Linked DNA regions of Homo sapiens: regions 2, 3, 4, 5, 6 and 7 are each linked to region 1. Evidence: promoter capture Hi-C in 16 types of primary human blood cells and fetal thymus (Javierre and others, 2016). All regions are on one chromosome and are shown on one strand. Each heading gives the region's core, a stretch centred on a gene start or on the middle of the fragment in contact. The rest is flanking DNA. Distances are from core to core; before and after follow the strand shown.

Region 1 (2,828 bases), core at 178-2,677:
TCTAAATGCCGACTTTTTGTAGTGCATTGTAAAAAGCTGAATAAAGCCAGGGACGGTGTCCTGTACCTACAGTCCCAGCTGCTCTAGAGGCTGAGGTGGGAAGATAGCTTTAGCTCAGGAGCTGAGGCCTTATCATAAGGCCTTATAAGACTACCTGGAGGCTTCATCTGCATGATATAACCTTGGTCTTCACAACCCCTTGTCTTTTTTTGTTTTTGAGACGGAGTTTCGCTCTTGTTGCACGGGCTGGAGTACAATGGCGAGATCTCGGCTCACCGTAACCTCCGCCTCCCGGGTTCAAGCGATTCTCCTGCCTCAGCCTCCCGAGTAGCTGGCATTACAGGCATGTGCCACCATGCCCGTCTAATTTTGTATTTTTAGTAGAGATGGGGTTTCTACATGTTGGTCAGGCTGGTCTCGAACTCCCAACCTCAGGTGATCCGCCCACCTCGGCCTCCCAAAGTGCTGGGATTACAGGCGTGAGATACCACGCCCGGCCCACAACCCCTTAACCCAGACAACCATTTCTACTGATTCCAGGTCTTTAGATACAAACTCTTTCAACCAATTGCCAATCGGAAAATCTTTGAACCCACCTGACCTGGAAGCCCCGCCCCTCCCTTCCAGTTGCGCCTTTCCAGAGGAATCCAATGTACATTTTACATGTATTGATTGATGTCTTACGTCTTCCTAAATTGTTAAAACCAAGCTGTAGATGGGCCACCCTGGGCATATGTTCTTAGGATATCTTGGAGCCGTGTCATGGGCCATTAGTCACTCATATTTGTCTCAGAATAAATCTCTTCAACTATTTCACAAAGTTCCACCCTTTTCGTCGACAGAAAGATATTCCTCCTTCAACTCTCCATCACATCCTGTGTGGGTCTTTTCTTTCTTGTCCCAACAGAAGCACACTAACGATCAAAAAAAAGTCTCCAGAGCCTCAGTATGTGTGTACTTGACAAGCACAAAAGAGCTGACCGCTATGAATGGAGGACCAGTTCATTATGGTCAGCCATGTCGCTTCTGATGTTCTTCCTTTCGGGACTTGCTGTGCTTCAGAGAATCTGAAACGACAGGTCTCTGAAATATTTCTCAGACTTGTCCTAGACTGCTCTCCGGGAAAATCTGGTTACTTGCAGTTTAGGAGTCAGCAAAGCCCCTCCACGTCCTTAAGAGCCCCGGAACTGCATTTCTTAACGCTCCTCCAGGAGCCTCCAGCTTTTTTCCGTAAGGTCCGCGCGCCCAGCATTGTGAGGCGAGGCAGGCAGCAGCGTGGGAACTACATTACCCAGAAGACACTGCGGGCGACACAGGCAGCAACGTGAGAACTACATTACCCAGAAGACACTGCGGGGGCAGGGCAGCGAGTGTAGCCATTGGTCTAGCAGAGAGACGACTAATGAGGTCTCAATTGTGTGGGCGGGACTTCTGGCGGCGCCCTCATGGTTGCGTTAGCATGGCTACCTAGGGATCTGTTCACTGATTTAGAGGGTCCCAGAGCTCTGGGTCGGGACTGAGGTGAAAGAGCGGAAAAACGCGAGAAGCGGTGTTCCTTCTACACAGAGGCTAGAGTGCGGATCGGCTGAGTCGGCTGCAGGCGCCCCTGCCTCCGTCAGCGTCCAGGTGACCGCCGTTCCCGCCCCGCTCTTCCCTGGGTGGACTGGAGGAGGCCGCGCCGATGAACCTGACCGAGGTGCGTGCAGCGTCCCAGGCCGCCCCGCCCAACCCCTCCTCCCAGTGCTGAAGTCCCAAGGAGCCGCCCTGCAGGTTAGGCCCTTGTGTCTCTAAGAGAGGGGCGTTCTTGTGTGGGGTGCCCGGGACTGGGACTGCGGTGCGATGAGGCGGGGGAGCTCCCGTCGGAGACCGACACGTCTCTGGGGCTTGGAGGCACTGCAGAACGGGCGGCACTGGGGAGCCCGAGCGTCTTTGTCTCCAAGGAGCAGAGGTTGAGGCGGAGTCTCCCCTGGAAGGGCAGTGGAGCCGCAGAGAGCCATAGAGGGCTGTGCAGGGAGGACGAATGGGAGGGTCACGCCCAGAGTTAGAAGTTTAAAGTTGGGGAAAACAGGATGTTGAACGGGGGCAGGGGGACCGCTGAGGAGACCCCTTGAGTTATGGTAGGGCTGGGCCAGAGGGGTTGCAGTAGAGGGGAGATGTGATGAGACTCTGGATGGATCTCAGAGATAGGGTCAACAGGATTTCCTGCTGCATCAAACATAGCTGTGAGGGAAAGTCGGTAGTGAATGGTGTCTTCCATAGGTTTTGTTTTGGCCTGAAAAATCTGAAAGAATGGAATTAGAGATATCAGCTTAAGGAGCGGGTTTCAGACAGAAGATCCTGGGTTGGATTTTGGGCGACATCACATGGGTAGGTGGACGTAATTTCCAAAGGTGAGGGAAGGTAGCTGGCCTGGAGCTTTAAATGAGTTAGAAGTTGTGCACTTGAGAAGTTGGCCTGTGGATCAGATTGAGAAGGAAGAATCCTACATCGTTTTTTCATATGGGCTGAGGTAGGGGAGGGCTCAGATTTGGAGGAAAGACCATGGTAGGGAGGGCATCTCTGATACTCCCTGCAGAAGGGAGCAGATATGGGCTAAGAGTCTGGTCTGTTTCTGTTGAAAAAGAGGCCTGGATGGATAAGGAGTTGCCCTGGAATACAGAGACTGAGGCATGAGATAATTGTAGTCACTCCACCCTTCTAACTCAGCTGGCCCTGAGGGCCACTCTTTAGGGAACAAGATAAGGCCATGCAGCAACTGGGTCCAAAACTGGGCAGGGCTTTCTCACATCCTCCACCACAGTTAAGGGCCTCCAGCAAGCTCCCTTTAC
Region 2 (2,828 bases), core at 99-2,598, 930 kb after region 1:
TTGGAGTGCAGTGGCGTGATGTGGGCTCACCGCGACCTCCGCCTCCTGGGTACAAGCGATTCTCCTGCCTGAGACTCCCGAGTAGCTGGGATTACAGGCACCAGCCTCCACACCCGCCTAATTTTTGTGTTTTCAGTACAGATGGGGTTTCACCATGTTGCTCAGGCTGGTCTTTAACTCCTGAGCTCAAGGGATCCACCCGCCTTGGCCTCCCAAAGTGCTGGGATTACAGACATGAGCCACCGCACCTGGCCTCTAGTTTTTCAAGATGCCACCTTTAGGGGAATTGGGTAAAGCGTACATAGGGTATGCATTACTTGTTACTGCATGTGAATTTATAATTACCTCAAATCAAAAGTTAAATTTTAAAAAAACGACATCTGATTTCAATAAAAATCCATATTTGTGTATTGAAGTATCAGAAATCCGGGTCCCCCAAGGGCCCATGTTTCTTAAGGCGGAGCCAGGCACCGCTGCCCCTCCATCCTGTGGTGTGCGACCCCGACCCGCCAGCCCCCAGCCGCATCTATCAGGGCTGCCGTCCTGAGTCCGTCCTCGTCGTGGGATAGCATGTGAGCCCCGTAAGGTCCTTCCTGTCGGCCTCACTGCTCCAGCCTCCCCGACGTCCTCACGTCCACGCTGCGTGCCCTTTCTGAGCCTCAACGCCTCCTCCTCACCTCGACATGATCAGAGCCACCTCCCGCGTCAGTCCCAGCGCCCACGCCCCCAACAACGGGCACTTGTCCGACCAGTCACGGGTACTTGTGTCTCCCCCACAACCCCCAAGGCCTAGGCTGGACAAACAAATACGGAGTGGATAAAGGGGAGGAAGCTGCGGCCAGGTGGCGCGAGGCCTGTGCGGGCAGCTCCGGAGGCTGGGAGGCGAGCCCAGCCTGGTGAGCTCCGAAACTACCCGGGGCTGGGGACTGATGAACGAATAAATGAATGTGGGAAGAAATGATGGCGCGGCAGGGCATGAGTGAATGAGTGAAAGAATAAACGAGCAGGAGGAACGATGCCACAGAACTGATCGCCATAAGGCTCGCGTTCACCGAGAGAACAGCAAACGGGAGCCATTTCCGTCCCGACCACGGTCGCCTCTGGCCCGTGCAGGGCCACTTCCGGGCCGCTCTGGACGGCGCGGAGGCCTATCTCTCGGTGGTCCCAGAGGGCCCAGCTCAGGGCCGAGGCCCGTCCTGCCCCGCGCGGCGGGAGTGGTTGGAGCCGGAGGGCGGATCTGTGCCTGGCCGAGGGTGTCCGTCGGCGTCACTCACCGTCCTCGGCCCGCCTCTGCGTCCACTAGGAGCGGCCTGAAAGAGGCCCGCACGCGGGCTCGAGCCGCGTGGAATGGTAGGAGGGCGGGCACCGGGTCTCCTGGGGGCGCGGTTGCATTCGGCAGAGCGGCCCAAGGCGTCGCGTTTCTCCCCACTGCGCCTGCGTAACTATGCCGCGGCTGCGGGCGCGCGCCTTCTGGTTCCCATGGGGACGGCGCCACAGCCAAGCTACTCGGGCGTCCTGCGTTGCCATGGATGCGCTCCGCCCCTTCCTGCACCCGGCCAGCCTCTGCGGCACACACCCAACAGCTACACAGGCGCCTGGGGCTGCCCGGGTCGCGGACGCAAGTCGGGCCAACGTAGCTTCTCCCTGGCGGTCCTCCTCCGGCCCCAGGCCGTCTTTACCACCCTGGAACCTTGCTGAGTTGACGCCACTGAGCTGCGTCTCACACCCACGCGCTGTGGAACACCCACCAAGCTGGAATCCACGCGGTTTTTAAAATAGAGTCGGGGGCCGGGCGCGGTGACTCACGCCTGTAATCCCAGCACTTTGGGAGGTCGAGGCGGGCGGATCACGAGGTCAGGAGATCGAGACCATCCTGGCTAACACGGAGAAACCCCGTCTCTACTAAAAATACAAAAAATTAGCCGGGCGTGGTGGCGGGCGCCTGTAGTCCCAGCTACTCGGGAGGCTGAGGCAGGAGAATCGCTTGAACCTGGGAGGCGGAGCTTGCAGTGAGCCGAGATCGCGACACTGCACTCCAGCCTGGGGCGACAGAACGAGACTCCGTCTCAAAAAAAAAAAAAAAAAATTGAGTCGGGATCTCAGAAGCTAAGCAGGGTCGGGCCTGGTTAGTACTTGGGAGACCGTCTGGGAACACCGAGTGCTGTTGGCTAAAATAAATAAATAAACCGGGCGCGGTGGCTCACGCCTGTAATCCCAGAACTTTGGGAGGCCGAGGCGGGCAGATCACGAGGTCAGGAGTTCGAGACCAGCCTGACCAACATGGTGAAACCCCGTCTCTACTGAAAATACAAAAATTAGGCTTGTTGGCGTGTGCCTATAATCCCAGCTACTCGGGAGGCTGAGGCAGGAGAATCGCTTGAACCGGGGAGGCAGAAGTTACAGTGAGCTGAGGTCGTGCCACTGCACACTCCAGCCTGGGTGACAGAGCAAGACTCCGTCTCAAAAAACAACATAGACCAGATGCTGTAAGCTAAAATAAATGAATAGCTAGAGACGGGGTCTCGCTATATGGCCCAGGCTGGTCTTGAACTTCTGGGCTCAAGTGATCCTCCCACCTTGGCCTCCCAAAGTGCTAGGATTACAGACCCGAGCCACTGCACCCGGCCTCCACGAGCTCTTTTTGTACCAATTTTTCCCAATTTGTACTAGGGAGCTCTCACCTCAGCCCAGGTGGTTTGGGCAGGTGTGGGTACATGGCCCAGGTCCACAGCACAGGGCAGTCCATCCCTCTGGCCCTGGCAGTGGTCACTTTGGACCTGTGAGCATCGTGGGACTTCTCTCTGAACTGTTAGGGCCTCTATCTGCTT
Region 3 (2,828 bases), core at 112-2,611, 890 kb after region 1:
AGGCATCGACTGAATCACACAATCACACTACCATTCACAGTCACCGTAACAACATCACACACAGTCTAGGGCCTTTATACTGTGTCAGGTCCACCCCATTACCTCTAAGTATCTGTCTCAGACACAATTACACCTGGTGCAGGCAAACACAGCTGCATGATTATCACATATGATGATTAAATCACAGGTCACACACACGCAGAGTAAGCACACAGAACAACCCACAAACCTGGTCACAGAGTGACTCATGCAGACAGACGCCCAGCTCAAATTCAGTAAAAAATGATACACATTTATAAAAATGATTACATGTGTTCACAGAGAGCCACACATAGCTACACTCAATACACACCCTGACATAGGCAACCACACCGCTCACCTCTCACAAAGGCACCTTCAGTACTTACACAGACACTCACACCCACAAGCCCTCAGACAGGCACCCTCTCCCCTCACTCCTAACATGGGCACCCTCACCTCTCACCCAGGTACCCTTGTTACTGGTGGAGGGTGTCCAGGTTCTTGGCATCTTGAACAAATAATTGGACAAAATGCACAAAGAAAAGAATGAAGCAACAAAAGCAGAGATGTATTGAAAATGAAAGTACACTCCACTGTATGGGAGCAGGCCGGAGCATAGGGGCTCAAGAGCCCGGTTACAGAATTTTCTGGGGTTTAAATACCCTCTAGAGGTTTCCATTGGTTACTTGGTATATGCCCTATGTAAATGAAGAGGACGAAGTAAAGTTACAAAGTGATTTACTCCATGTACGCCCTGCATAAATGGAGAGGATATTTCCTACCATAGCTGCAGTTTCCATTTGATTTACTTCTAGGAAGTCCTTAGGTTCCCTGCCTCCAGACCCGATTTTCTTGCCTCACCCTTACCCCTCACCCCTCACACAAACACCCTCAGCCCTCCCAAAGCCACCCTCAGCCTCACACAGCCGCCCTCACCCTCAGCCTCACACAGGCACCCTCAGCTCTCACACAGGCACCCTCAGCCCTCACACAGCCGCCCTCACCCTCAGCCTCACACAGGCACCCTCAGCCTCACACAGGCACCCTCAGCTCTCACACAGGCACCCTCAGCCCTCAGCCCTCACACAGCCGCCCTCACCCTCACCCTCACACAGGCACCCTCAGCCTCACACAGGCACTCTCACCCTCAGCCTTCACATTTCCCTCACCTCCAAGTCCCGCCTTTCGCGCATCGCCTGCTGCTCTCCCACTCAGCGCCACCTCAGTCCCACAAAGGCCGGGCTGGGATCCTGTGGCCTCCGTGCTGACCAACGTCAACTACAATTCCCAGCAGGCACCGCGCCTGGGTACACTTGAGCTTCCGGAGGACGCCGGGAATTGTAGTCCTGGCGGGCGTGGGCCCTTGAGGTGTGCTGGGAGCTGTGGTCCGGGTCGGCGGGCGCGCAAGTTGGCTAGTCTCTGCGGCCACCTCCGGAAGGGTCCGCCGGCTGTGCTGGTGAGGTGGGTTTCGGGGGTGTTCTCCGTCCTGATCCAGGCTGGAGAGGGGCACAGCAGGTCCAGAAGCCGCGAACCTCTGGGGCGGCCAGAGCGAGATGCGGGGTACCGCCCAGCGGGTAGAGAGTGAGAGGCTGACTAGGGGACGTGAGTAGACGGACTGCGAGTGCCGGACACACGCGCAGAGGATGTGACGGACTGACGGACCAGGCGTGGACGGACCGTGTGTGCACGGACTGACGGACCCGGTGTGGACAGACTCACGGACCGAATGTGGTGCGGAATGACACACTGAGTGCCGGACGGACCGACGGAGAATGTGTCGGACTGACGGAGTGTGTGTCGGATGGACTGATTGACCGGGTGTGGGGCGGACGAAGTGTGGAGCGGGCGGACAGATAACAGATAAAATGTAGGACCAGTGGCCTGGGAGGGTGTGGGGCGGACCCGTTTATGTGTCTGATAGGCGGTTCTGTGTCTGACACCTCTTGGGTGTGTGTATCTGACGGGTTGGAGTGTGTGATTCTGATAGGTTGAGTGTAACACTAACCATGGAGTGTGTGACTGACAGAGATGGTTGCCGTTTGAGACTTCCTACGTGGGTTGTGAGATACTGTGAGAGGGTGAGCGTGTGACGGTGGGATTTCAAGTGTGACTGATTTTCTTTGTGTGTCCTTGAGATGGTGACTAAGATTATGAATGACTGTGATCAGAATAATACTGTGTGATGGAAATGCTGCGAGGGCCTGTGTTTATTTTTGAGACGGAGTCTTGCTCTGTTGCCCAGGCTGGAGTGCAGTGGCGCAATCTCGGCTCACTGCAACCTCCATCTCCCGGGTTCAAGCGATTATCCTGCGTCAGCCTCCCGAGTAGCTGGGATTACAGGCACCGGCCACCACACTTGGCTAATTTTTGTATTTTTGGTAGAGACGGGCTTTCACCATGTTGGTTAGGCTGGCCCGGAACTCCTGACCTCAGGTGATCCACCTGCCTAGGCCTCCCAAAGTGCTGGGATTATAGGCATGAGCCACCATGCCTGGCCAGGCCTGTGTTTATTTGACTGATTATAGGTGACATTGAGATATTTCCTGTGTCTGGGTATTTTGAAGGCTGTGGCTGACAGACTGTACCTGAGATAATATGTGTTAATATCTGATTGACTGAGATTTTTATCAGGGAGACTAAAACTTGGGTGATCCACAAACAGTTTACCAAGCATATGAGAGAGGATTTGTGCTTTGCCATGTCTGCAGCTGAAACTGAGTGACTAGTGGTCATTCAGCTGGGCTTATGGATATGTCCCCCAGTGTTTGCTTACGTGTAGCAGGGGGCTATGGTATCCATACATCTAC
Region 4 (2,828 bases), core at 118-2,617, 870 kb after region 1:
ATGCCCCCCTTAGTCTCACTGGCCACAGATGGGTCAGGGGGCCACCCCTAATAACAACGGGGCTTAGAAACCTCGTATTTACCTTTCTAACCTCTGTGGTGGAGACAGGTGGGAGAGAAAAGTCCTGGGAAGTGGATGATGGAGGCAGCTAGCCGTAGCTGCTGCTTTTCTCTTCAAGCTCTTGGGAGAATTGCTTGTGCTCCCTATTCCCTTGGTGGATGATGGAGGCAGCTAGCCGTATCTGCTGCTTTTCTCCTTCAAGCTCTTGGGAGAATCGCTTGTGCTCCCTATTCCCTTGGTGGCAGCTCACACCTCAGACCTGCTGTCCGCCCCCACTGCTTCACAGAACCCACTGCAACCACTGTCCAAGGTACTACCTCTGGTGTCGTCTCTCTTCATCCCCAGGACTGTGAAGCCTGCTAACCTCTTTGCAGAGCTCCATCTCCTTGCATTGTGGGGTTCCTTCTAACTCTTCAGGGACTTCTCAACCTCCCGTCACCCTTCCTAAATGCTGGGGTCCTAGAGTCCACCTTGTGCTCCACGCCCTCCCCAGGTGTCATCTACATCCCTAGCTTTGTGCTGCTCACCACCAAATCAGTCTGGTGCTTCTGAGATTTGGGCTTCAGACCCAAACAACTGCTGTGTGCTACTGGGCAACTCCCCGAGGTGTGCCGAAAGCTCCCCAAACCCAGCCTACCCCAAACAAAACTCATTTTCCACCCAGACTAGTCTCTGCTTCCCTGATCCCTTTCCTGGAGGCTGTTTCCACTTGCCATCCCATCATGGAAGCCAGAAAACCAGTCTTCTTGACCTCTCCCCTTCCCCACTCCATGGAGTTAGAGGTCCTGTTGATTTTGCCATGTAAACATTTCGGATTTGCTTACTTCATCCCCACTGCCACCAACAGTGCAGGATGGCCCTAAGAGGAGAAGTAATGTGCTACCAAGTGGCCCAGCCAGAGTGTGAACCAAACAGTCTGGTACCAAAACCCTATTCTGGATCATTCCTCCTTTCTGCTCCACCAGCAGTTTGGGGCACAGGCTTGGGAATCCAGACAGGAAAGCTCCTCCCCTCTGAAGCAGTGGGACCAAAAATGACAGCATGGTTCTAGACAGCTCTGGAAGTCAGGCCTGTGATTGCCTCATTCCCTCCACCTTGGCCCCCAAAATGGCCAGTCCTGAAGGGGTCACAGTTGATACTTCTCTGAGGGGGCATGGGGTTGGCTGAGGTTATAGCAGCCCCACAGGGTGGTAAGCTGGGATGAAGCAATCAACTGGAACTCAACAAGCCTTGAGTTCTCAAAGGGGGTGTGGGAAGGTTCTTATACATCTTCTATGAAGGGCAGTTTATCAGTCACTAAATTACAAATACATAAACCCTTTGTCTCACCAAACCTGCTGGGAATGAATCCTACATATATATTTATATGTGTGCAGGCTACATGGTTTTCATTATGCTATTGATTTTAAAAGTAAAAATTTGGAAAGAACCTCCATGTCCACCATGGGGAACTGGCTAAGTCATTTATGGTGGAATGGTGATCATAAAAATTCATTAAAAATGAAGACTCTATATACAGCTTGAATATTCCTTATCGAAATGCTTGGGACCAGAAGTGTTTCAGATCTTTGCATATTTTCTGTTTCTCATTTCAGTTCACATTTTCTAAGCATGATATTCCTACTGATTTCCTTGTAGATATTTTGAAACAGATAAGAAACTCCTCCGTGGAAATTACTGTTAACTAGGGAAAAGACATGTTTTTTTCTGTTCATAAAAGTAATGCGAGTTCTTTGTAGCAAAACTTGGAAAATGCATAAAAGTAAAAAAAAAATGAAAACTTGTGTAAAATTCCTCATACTTTAGCCATCCATAGATGGTCCTTACCATTAGGATTTTACTAATTTTCCTTGCAGCTTTTTCTTAAAATATACACGTGTGTCTACACATACATAGTGTACACTAAATTTTACATACACACAGAGGAATATATATGTGTATAGTTATCTTGTGTTTAGAAATTTGGAATCCCTTCTAGTTGTCTTGTAACATGTGCTTACTCTATTTTGAGGATTTTCTCTATGAATTTCATGTAGCTCTTTAAATTAACTTTCAGGAGGATTGTAACAATGTGCTCTCCACCCAGTATTTTACCAGCCTTGAGTTTTCTCAAAGGGGGCATTGGAGGGGTTCTTATACATTTACAGTGGGAATGTGAATTGATACAACTTCTGTGGAGGGCAGTTTATCAGCCACTATCTAAATTACACATACATAAACCCTTTGTCTAAGCAAACTTGCTGGGAATAAATCCTACACATATATTTGTATGTGTGCAGACTGTTTGTACATGGTTTTCATTATGCTATTGATTTTAAAAGTCAGAATTTGGAAACAACCCTCCATGTCCACCATGGGGAACTGGCTAAGTCATTTATGGTGGAATGGAGATCATAGCCTTAAAAATGAAGACTCTTTATATACAGGTTGAGTATCCCTTATCCAAAATGCTCAGGACCAGAAGTGTTTCAGATTTCAGATTTTTGAATTAGGGATCCTCAAACTATACTAATGTGAGAAAGAGCTCTAAGATAGTTAAGTAGATAAAAGCAAGGTGTCAAACTGTAGAGTATGTTTCCATTTATGTAAAGAAGAAACAGGCTAGGCAAGGTGACTCACGCCTGTAATCCCAGCACTTTGGGAGGCCGAGGCGGGTGGATCACCTGAGGTCCGGAGTTCAAGACCAGCCTGACCAACACGGTGAAACCCCATCTCTACTAAAAATACAAAAGCTGGGTGTGGTGGTGCACACTTCTAATCCCAGCTAC
Region 5 (2,828 bases), core at 85-2,584, 840 kb after region 1:
CTGACCTCGGCTCACGGCAACCTCCGCCTCCCAGGTTCAAGCGATTCTCCTGCCTCAGCCTCCCGAGAAGCTGGGACTACAGGTGCCCGCCACCACGCCGGGCTAATTTTTGTATTTTTAGTAGAGACGGGGTTTCACCATATTGGCCAGGTTGGTCTCGAGCTCCTGACATCGTGATCCACCCGCCTCGACTTCCCAAAGTGCTGGGATTATAGGCGTTAGCCACCGCGCCCGACCTTTAATAAACATTTTAATGGACTACAACAGACCCACAGAAAAAGACACATCACAAAGTGAACACCCACAGGGAGAAGCAATAGGGCTGTCAGAGGCATTCGACCCAGAGCGACTCCATTTTGAGTGAGGGCTAGGAAAATGAGGCTGGGCTGCATTCCCAGAAAAGTAGGTATTCCTAACCTCTAGATGTTTACGGTTAAGGGAACAAATTAATAATGGGTACTAAAACAGACCCAGACTTGGGAGTGTCCAGATATCCCGGTATCTAGAGAACAAAGGCATTCCTAATTTTGCTTTAAAAATAATATCGATTCTTGAAAAATACAGTAAGAAAATTAATCCTTTTTCACAAACCCTTGTAGCAGAGCACATCTCCCCAAAATCTATTTTTAGCCCAAATATACACAAGCATTGTACCTAGGGTGCATACGTTCCTCTTACTTTCAGGAACGTCCTACTGTCTATGGGGTAGCTGTTTCACAACTTTACTTTCTCAACAAACTTGCTTTTACTTTGCACTGCGGACTCGCCCTGAATTTTTTCTTGCGCGAGATCCAAGAACCCTCCCTTGGGGTCTGAATCGGACCCCTTTCCTGTAACACAACCACCGCTCCCAGCCTCCCCGCTTCCAGCCGCTAAGCCCAAAGTCTTTTATATGAACAAACCTCTAACTCGTCCTGTGACTTTGATGCGTGTGCGTTTTAGGCACCGGGGAGCAGAGGGTAAAGCGGCGCAGCTCCGGGCCTCCTCCCGCGCAAGTTCCCGAGAAGAGCAGGTCCGGCCCGCGCAGACGTGCACGGTCCCCAGCCATTAGGAGGAGCAGACGGTCCCCACCCCCACAATCAGTCATCTCTCGGGGTCCGCCCTTGCTTCCTGCCCACGAGTGAGGCCTCTGGTTGCCCGCAACCTAAGGGGCATCGCAGCCCCGAGCAACACCGCCCCCACCAGCCTTAGCTGAGTGCTCCCATTGGCCAGAGGCCAGCGGGTGGGGGCTCCCATTGGCCATCGGCCATAATGCTTCCATTGGTCGAAGGCCAGACCAGCGGAGACTCCCATTGGCCGAGGGCTGTGGTTCGCCGCACGGCCTACTGGGAGTTGTAGTCGCCGCGTCGCCGGTGCGGCCGCCATTGTCCGGCGTTCGGCGAGTCGGGTGGTCCCTTTGGCTGGAGTGCCTCTCTGGTCTGGGGATCACCTCAGGCGCTGTCCTTCACTGGGCGATCCAGCATGGACCCCGAGGACGAAGGGGTAGCGGGAGTGATGTCTGTGGGGCCGCCGGCGGCCCGGCTTCAGGTAACAATAACAACAATAACGACGGCGGCGGGCTCCGGGCAAGCGTCTCCCGCGCAGACTGACCCTTTCACCTCGCGGCGCGATGAGAGCGGCACCGCTGTTAATGCCCTTGACACGTGGGGAAACTCAGACGCGGGTCGGGGCGTGGTGACCGTCCTGGCTGGTCAGAGAGGGGGCCGGGATTCCAACCAGGCGCCTGGCCCCCGAATGCGCATGCTCCACGCGGCTCTGTCCTCCCCAGGGCTGGGGTCGGTCATTCCCGAGAGAATCGAGCAGGCCCATCTCCTGCGTTCTGCTCCGCCCCGCCGACACCCTTGCCCATTCCAGGAAGGTCTGTCCTCGTGTTGACTGATAACAGTAATTGTAGCGTTGGCCGGGTGCCCAGATGGCAAGAATCATCGAATAGAGATGCTTTAACGCGTGGAGTCAGCGGACACCCACCGGGACCCCAGCACCGCGGAGCCCCTGCCCTGGGGCTTGGGCACAACCTCTTGGGGGCAATGATGGGTCACCACGCACTGAGTGTGATGAGAGTGACCACCAGGGTCGTCCCCTGCGAGACTGTGGGAGAACTGCAGTGCAGGGCGGTCAGTGTTTGCAGGGCCATCTGGCCATCAGAGCTCCACTTTCTAGACAAAGTGGTTGCGGCCTGTGTTCTCCATAAAGCTGCCTCGCGTGGCAGGAAACAACAATAATTATCCTTCCTCAAGCTCTGCAACTTTGAAATTATACTTTTTTTTATTTTTTGTCGTTGGTTTGTTCATGGGGATTTGCATTATTTCAGATTTGGTACACAAAGTGAGACTTGATAATCTTAGGTTGCAGGTTTTCAGATGTGTGTTGCTCCAAATTTGCATGAAATGCTACCACGTTTTATTTTGTTCTTGCTGTGGATGGGGGACAAGGAATGAGTCGTAAGAAAGGCTTGAGAGAAAGTGTATTAGTTACCTGTTGCTGTGTAACTCAAAACTTCGTGACCTGGAACAACAATAAATATCTCACGAGTTCTGACAGGAGTAATGGAATGTCCTAGCTGGTGGTTCTGGTTCAGGCCCATGAAGTTACAGTGAAGATGTCAGCATAGCTGTTGTCACCTGAGACCTGAGTCTGGAGGATCCACCTCCAGGATGGCTCACTCACATGTCTGTTGATAGGAGACCTCAGTTGTTCTCCATGTAGGCCTCTCTTTGGAACTGCTAGGGATCCTTGCAACATGGCATCTGGCTTCCCACAGAACAAGTGATCCAGGAGAGGGCAAGGTAGAAACTGTAACACCTTCCATGACCTGGATTCAGAATTCA
Region 6 (2,828 bases), core at 189-2,688, 790 kb after region 1:
CAGGAGATCGAGACCATCCTGGCTAACAGGGAGAAACACCGTCTCTACTAAAAAAGAAAAATTACAAAAAATTAGCCGGGCGTGGTGGCGGGCGCCTGTAGTCCCAGCTACTCGGGAGGCTGAGGCAGGAGAAAGGCGTGAACCCGGAAGGCGGAGAGTGCCGTGGGCCTAGATCGTACCACTGCACTCCAGCCTGGTGGACAGAGCGAGACTCCGTCTCACAAAAAAAAAAAAAAAAAAAAAAAAAAAAAAAGACTGAGGGAACCTTCCCAGGAAACCCCTAGCAGCCTTATTTCTCCTTGGCCAGAATATCCTTGCCTAATTCACACAGCAAGAAGCTTGAGTCCATTCTGATTAGCTTAGAATCCATCAAGATCCTCCCTTAGGGAGTTAGATTCTAGATTTCCCGGAAGAATCTAAAAATTGCAGGGTCGTGCTAGCCAGGTATGAAAATAAGCAAGTAAAAAGATGATGACTGTTGGGTAAAGCTATCGACAAGGTCAGCTACAAAACAGTCAAGCCAAGGAAGGCTAGTCACAGATGCACCCCAGACACAAAAGCACAGTCCAGGAGCTGAGGGTGCCTGAGCCACAGTGGTTCCCGCCTACCTGGCCTTCGTAGGAAAGTTTCCTGTGGTCTCCCTCATTGAAGAGCCAGGACGGGTCAGGCGGTGGTGGGTCTCAGACATTGAGCCCCACAACGCACTGAGACTGAACATCAGACCATTTATAATAACAGAACTCTGTCCCACAACTTCTGCAGCAATAGGTACAAAACAGAACTTGGTCACTGCCAGCCTCCCTATTTTTTTCCCTGTCCCACTTAGGAGCTACCACAGAAAGCCAAATAGGCTCGACTGAGCGATCACCTAGGACGAATCGCCTCCAGTTAGCGTGCTTCCACCTTCCACTCGGAATGCTCCAAGCAGGGCACTCCCGGGGCTTTGTTTCTATCACTAGGACGCGTCCCCACGCCCAGGCTGTCCCTGAGTCCCTGCCACAGGCGCAGATGTTGGCGGGCGCCCTTGCCCCTGAGCTCCCGGTTAACGGCCTTGGACTGTTCTCATGGCTCAGTCTTGGTCTCTCTCCCCAGCAGGGCAAGGCGCCGGGAAGGCACCCGAGATGACAGCGCCGAGCCCCATAGGCGCTAGTCCCGCCCTGGACGCCGACCGCCGCCTCCACAGTCTCGGCTTCGGTTGCTGGATGAGAACCAGCGTGGCCCGTTTAAGGGGGAGGGGACAGGCGCTGCAAGGAGCAGAGCCGCGGGAAGCAACTCCCTAAGCCACAATGCTAGTCGCGAACACAGGAAAAAGCTCATCCCGCCGCCGCGGGGCCCCATGCTCCCGCCGGCAATGACTATGCCTGTGGGAGCAACGGCTACCGGCGCGCGGCCTTCTGGGAGTTGTTTGTTGCGCGGAGCGCGGGCACGTCCGCCGGCCACCGGAAGCACCGCCATTGGCCGGTGCGTGCAGGTGAGTCTGGCGGCCTCAAGGTTGGCTCGGAGGTTTCACTGTTAGCCGGGTGCGGCCGGAGCGCAGGACCAGGCCAGAGCCGCCCCAAGTGATCTGGGCGTGCCGGAGAAACGAGCAGGGCCTGCGGGGGTCCCTCATGCGGCGAGGCCGAGCAAGGGCAGGGGCCTGATGGGATCGGGATCTCTCCGGCCTCAGGGACGGGGAAGGCCGGTCCAGTCAGGTTTCCCCTGCAGGAGCGCCCGGCTGGGTCTGAGCTTGTCGGGAGGCTCTCCTGCTGCAGAGCTGGGAGGGAACTTATAGTACCTCGCAGGTACGGGCAGGGGTGGAACTGGGTGGGACTGGGTGGGACTGGGTGGGACTGGGTGGGACTGGGTGGGCCCTCCCGACAGAGGGTGCCTGGGTCGAGGGCTGCAGGGGCGGGGGATTCAGGCTGGCGTCTGGAGCTCTGGGGCTGCCGACCCAGCGGGCCTCTCCCGGCTCCTTTTTCCTCCCTCAACTCATCTTCTGCGGCTTATCCACAGGTGGCAGCCAAGAGCCTCCTGGCACAGCGGCACCAGGCAGGTGACGCCTATTGGACCCCAGAGGTCATCCCAGCTCCAGACGTGGACACATTTTCTTCCAATGGTACGTGAAGCTTGAACCTTGCAGAGAACATGTGTATTTTCCAAGTGAACAGAAGATTAAGGCCAGTCCACGCAGGGCAGGGGTAACTGGGGTGTTGGGGGCCTGCACTGGTTAAGCGATGCTGGTGCACCCCATAGAGAGACTACAGAGGTGAACAGGATGGGATGTGTATGTAACGCCTGTAAGTTAGGGATCGGGGTTCCATTTGTGTTGGGTGATATTTGATGGGGACCGTACAAGGCAGTGCTAATGAGGAAGGCATGGGGTTGGATTTCAAGAGTCTAAGGGAGTAGGGAAACATCTGATTGTGGAAATGACTCCGTGTAAGGAGGGATGCCAAAAGACAGGAAGGAGTGGAGGAAGACTGTGTTTCTGTTTCCAGCGTGGAGCCAGGGTAGAAGTCACAGTGCAAGGAAGATGTGGTATGCCTGGTCAGTCTCTGCATGGGAGTTGAGGAGCATGTGGGTGACATGGCTGAATGTGGAGGAGGGAATGGCAGTGGCAGGAAGCCCAGGAGGTTTGGGCTGGACACGTAACCTGGAGCAGATTGGAAACGTCACCCCACAAGCAGGGAAGGAGAAAACTGGAAAAGGAAAGAGAAAGCAACTCCCTCCCCAGCCCTGCAGCCAGAGGGACTTCTGCCAGATCAGCCACCATACAGGTCCAGTATGAGGAACAGATGGGGAATTTTATGTCCAAGTATAATCACTATGAATACATGTGTTGTGCCCCT
Region 7 (2,828 bases), core at 178-2,677, 760 kb before region 1:
ACATGCATTACATCACACTCTGACACACACAGGGTCATACACAATCATACCTGCCCAGACACACACAGACATGCAGAGACACCCAAACCCATATCCAGGGACACACAGTCGCCCTCCTAACCCCCATGCAAGGAGGCAGGTGGGAAGCCATCACCTGCAGCCACACTCACACATGCACACAGGGTCCCGGGCACACGTAGCTACACACACACCCAGCCCCACACGTAGCTCCCTGTGTGAAGAGGTGCACAGAGACGCACAAGGTCACACATGCCACCTGCTCCACACAGGCCGGCCATTACTGGGACACACCCACAGGGGATGGCTGGACACATGTGCAGTCACACTCGGTGGATAGAGCTCCAGCATAGCCAAAGCCCACATGTGCAGCGTCTCCATCATGTGCAGATGCACACACTTCAGACAGCACGGCACTCTACAGGCTCGCACAGCCAGGTCACCCATCATTGTGCTGGCAGGCACACGGGCCGAGCCAGCCTACACGGCGGCACACCCAGACATGCACACGTGGGGTCACACACCTCACATCCAGGAGAACTTTCAGACTTGCCCAAAGGCAGCCACACGTGTATGTGACATGCTGTGATATGCAGACACCGCTTCACATGAACGAGCACATAACACACCGATAAAGTGTTACATGCCTTTACCTGCAGTCACCTGCCTGGGCTGGCACCACTGAGTGAGCAGGTGCAGACACAGTGACACTCGGGGACGGGCTCACAGGCAGTCACACACCTGCAAGGCCTGGCACCGCCGAGTGAGCAGGTACAGACACAGTGATGGGCTGGCACCGCCAAGTGAGCAGGGGCAGACGCTGTGACACTCAGGGACGGGCTCACAGGCAGTCACACACCTGCACCTGCTGGTACCGTCGAGTGAGCAGGTGCAGACGCTGTGACACTCAGGGACAGGCTCACAGCCAGTCACACACCTGCACGGCCTGGCACCGCCAAGTGAGCAGGTACAGACACAGTGACGGGCTGGCACCGCCGAGTAAGCAGGTGCAGATGCAGTGACAGGCTCACAGGCAGTCACACACCTGCACCTGCTGGTACCGTCGAGTGACCAGGTGCAGACGCTGTGTTACTCAGGGACGGGCTCACAGGCAGTCACACACCTATACGGGCTGACACCGCTAAGTGAACAGGTGCAGACACAATGGCACTCGGGGACGGGCTCACACGCGGTCACACACCTGCAGGAACACGCGCACACTACACACCGTTGCTCTCGCCTCCCGGTATCACCTTCGAACGCGCTGGCCGGCCCCCTCCTAGCCTGGTGCAGTCGGCTCCGCTTCTACTCAGTCTCGGGTCCTCCTGGGCCAACGCAGACCCTGGTGCCTCCTTCCTTAGACGAGCTAAGGTCAAGACTTCTGCTGCTGCGGAGGAGCCCGCGCACCAGGCCGGGGTGGACTGCGCCTGCGCATCGGGCCCGCCTGGTTCTTAGGAACTACGACTCCCAGGGGGCGCTGCGCGCTCGCCGGCACCGCGACTAAAGCTTGCAAAGCCTGGGTCATCGAAACTACAACTCCCAGAAGGCTAAGCGTCTGCACACGCTAGGTCCGCAGGGCGCTGACCCCTGGGGGCCCGAGGAGCGCCGGGCTGCTGCCCCGAGCCCCGCCCACTACAGCCTCAGTGCATGGCGGTGGGCGCTTCCAGTAACTCAGGGGTGGGACTTTTTTCTTGCTCAGGGGATGAGGCCGAGCCCACAGGCTTAGAAAGAAGGAACTTGAGTCCGGGCACCTGTCATCCCAGCGCTTAGGGAGGCCGAGGCGGGTGGATCACCTGAGGTCAGGAGTTCGAGACCAGCCTGGCCAATATGGCGAAACCCCCGTCTCTACTAAAAATACAAAAATTAGCCGAGCATGGTGGCATGCACTTCCAGCTACTTGGAAGGCTGAGGCGGGAGAATGGCTTGAACCTGGGAGGCGAGGGTTGCAGTGAGCTGAGATCGCACCACTGCACTCCAGCCTGGGTGACAGAGCGAGACTTCGTCTCAAAAAAAAAGAAGAAGAAAGAAGGAAGCTGAGGTTCAGACAGGCTAAGTCCCTACTGCAGGCTGCGGAATCTAAAAAGGTAGGTGCCAGGGTTTGCAACCCACACTTTTATTTTGGTCTCAGGTAGCTGATGTCATTCCAGTCTATGGCAAAGAAGGTGGCAAATCCATTAACATAGATGAAGAATTTCATTTTACTTTTTAGTTTTATTTATTTATTTATTTTTATTATGTATCATGCTTTTAATACAAACTTTAAAAAATCTGGAACAATAGAAACTGTACAGATTTGATCAATCTTTTTGTTTTGTTTTTAAACTAAAATCTCTAAACACACCAATGTCCTATTCCAAAATATTGCACAACATTCTGAATACAAAACCCTTGATTGTATTCCTCCTTCACTGAAGAAAAAACTTCATGACCCTGCTCCCCGGGCTCCTCTCCAGGCTTGCGTCAATGCCCCCTTCCCATCCCTAGGGAGAAAACTAGAGAATCTATAACTCACTGCATTGAGAAAAAGACATCATTCTGGACTAACAGTTTCCATTCTTCAGAAGATAATCCACCTTTTGATTTGTTCCTGGGAAACAGGGATAGATAGAGGATGGGGAAAGGGGAGAAAAGGTTTTATTTCTCCTCTTTTTTTTTTAAAGTTTGTTTTTCCTGAAAAAATATGTTTCTCTCATCTTTTTAAGAAAAAATCTTGAAAAGAAAAAAATTGTTTTTACGTTAGAAATATACATATATTATATATACCTCTTACATTTTACAAATGTAGCAAATTATTCAATACAAACGGACAC

The links. The method cuts DNA at HindIII sites, captures the fragments that hold promoters and counts their contacts. A CHiCAGO score of 5 or more calls a contact.
Region 2: a contact is called between the fragment with the promoter of ZNF497 here and the fragment with the promoter of ZNF749 in region 1, in 6 of 17 cell types (non-activated CD4 T cells, neutrophils, naive CD8 T cells and 3 more). The highest score is 8.7, in non-activated CD4 T cells.
Region 3: a contact is called between the fragment with the promoter of ZSCAN22 here and the fragment with the promoter of ZNF749 in region 1, in 4 of 17 cell types (neutrophils, non-activated CD4 T cells, total CD8 T cells and 1 more). The highest score is 7.6, in neutrophils.
Region 4: a contact is called between a fragment that was not itself captured here and the fragment with the promoter of ZNF749 in region 1, in 1 of 17 cell types (non-activated CD4 T cells). The highest score is 5.1, in non-activated CD4 T cells.
Region 5: a contact is called between the fragment with the promoter of ZNF8 here and the fragment with the promoter of ZNF749 in region 1, in 3 of 17 cell types (neutrophils, non-activated CD4 T cells and total B cells). The highest score is 7.8, in neutrophils.
Region 6: a contact is called between the fragment with the promoter of ZNF544 here and the fragment with the promoter of ZNF749 in region 1, in 6 of 17 cell types (total CD8 T cells, total CD4 T cells, naive CD8 T cells and 3 more). The highest score is 8.9, in total CD8 T cells.
Region 7: the fragment with the promoter of ZNF835 here is called in contact with the fragment with the promoter of ZNF749 in region 1 in 2 of 17 cell types (naive CD4 T cells and total B cells); the score reaches 5.7 in naive CD4 T cells.

The regions. Positions count from the first base shown.
Region 1 is chr19:57,433,898-57,436,725 of GRCh38, forward strand. It overlaps ZNF749 (zinc finger protein 749), which reads left to right and starts at 1,428. Exons shown (of 3, transcript NM_001023561.4): 1 at 1,428-1,696. The coding sequence starts at 1,682. RefSeq lists enhancers at 1,013-1,312, 1,943-1,992. The HindIII fragment of the contact is 4,352 bases long and covers 1-2,828 here.
Region 2 is chr19:58,361,403-58,364,230 of GRCh38, forward strand. It overlaps ZNF497 (zinc finger protein 497), which reads right to left and starts at 1,349. Exons shown (of 3, transcript NM_198458.3): 1 at 1,275-1,349. It overlaps ZNF497-AS1 (ZNF497 antisense RNA 1), which reads left to right and starts at 1,224. Exons shown (of 3, transcript NR_136527.1): 1 at 1,224-1,350. It also overlaps the pseudogene RNA5SP473. RefSeq lists enhancers at 636-1,184, 914-1,043. The HindIII fragment of the contact is 6,825 bases long and covers 1-2,828 here.
Region 3 is chr19:58,325,633-58,328,460 of GRCh38, forward strand. It overlaps ZSCAN22 (zinc finger and SCAN domain containing 22), which reads left to right and starts at 1,362. Exons shown (of 3, transcript NM_181846.3): 1 at 1,362-1,482. LOC105372480 (a long non-coding RNA gene) reads right to left here and starts at 1,616. Exons shown (of 3, transcript NR_144444.1): 1 at 1,191-1,616. RefSeq lists enhancers at 1,247-1,989, 1,333-1,662. The HindIII fragment of the contact is 13,061 bases long and covers 1-2,828 here.
Region 4 is chr19:58,300,468-58,303,295 of GRCh38, forward strand. ZNF8 (zinc finger protein 8) reads left to right here. Exons shown (of 4, transcript NM_021089.3): 4 at 1-2,324. All of the region lies in intron 4 of ZNF8-ERVK3-1 (ZNF8-ERVK3-1 readthrough (NMD candidate)), which reads left to right. Among named protein-coding and RNA genes, the nearest start is that of ERVK3-1, 3.5 kb to the right of the region's middle. The HindIII fragment of the contact is 9,060 bases long and covers 1-2,828 here.
Region 5 is chr19:58,277,621-58,280,448 of GRCh38, forward strand. ZNF8 (zinc finger protein 8) reads left to right here and starts at 1,335. Exons shown (of 4, transcript NM_021089.3): 1 at 1,335-1,527. The coding sequence starts at 1,462. ZNF8-DT (ZNF8 divergent transcript) reads right to left here and starts at 1,122. Exons shown (of 3, transcript NR_187495.1): 1 at 903-1,122. ZNF8-ERVK3-1 (ZNF8-ERVK3-1 readthrough (NMD candidate)) reads left to right here and starts at 1,346. Exons shown (of 7, transcript NR_144447.1): 1 at 1,346-2,828. RefSeq lists enhancers at 1,411-1,460, 1,881-1,930. The HindIII fragment of the contact is 22,069 bases long and covers 1-2,828 here.
Region 6 is chr19:58,227,476-58,230,303 of GRCh38, forward strand. ZNF544 (zinc finger protein 544) reads left to right here and starts at 1,439. Exons shown (of 7, transcript NM_014480.4): 1 at 1,439-1,471; 2 at 1,993-2,095. RefSeq lists an enhancer at 1,315-2,141. The HindIII fragment of the contact is 1,767 bases long and covers 337-2,103 here.
Region 7 is chr19:56,670,330-56,673,157 of GRCh38, forward strand. ZNF835 (zinc finger protein 835) reads right to left here and starts at 1,428. Exons shown (of 2, transcript NM_001005850.3): 1 at 1,247-1,428. It overlaps LOC105372473 (a long non-coding RNA gene), which reads left to right and starts at 1,650. Exons shown (of 4, transcript XR_936110.4): 1 at 1,650-2,102. The HindIII fragment of the contact is 4,177 bases long and covers 1-1,522 here.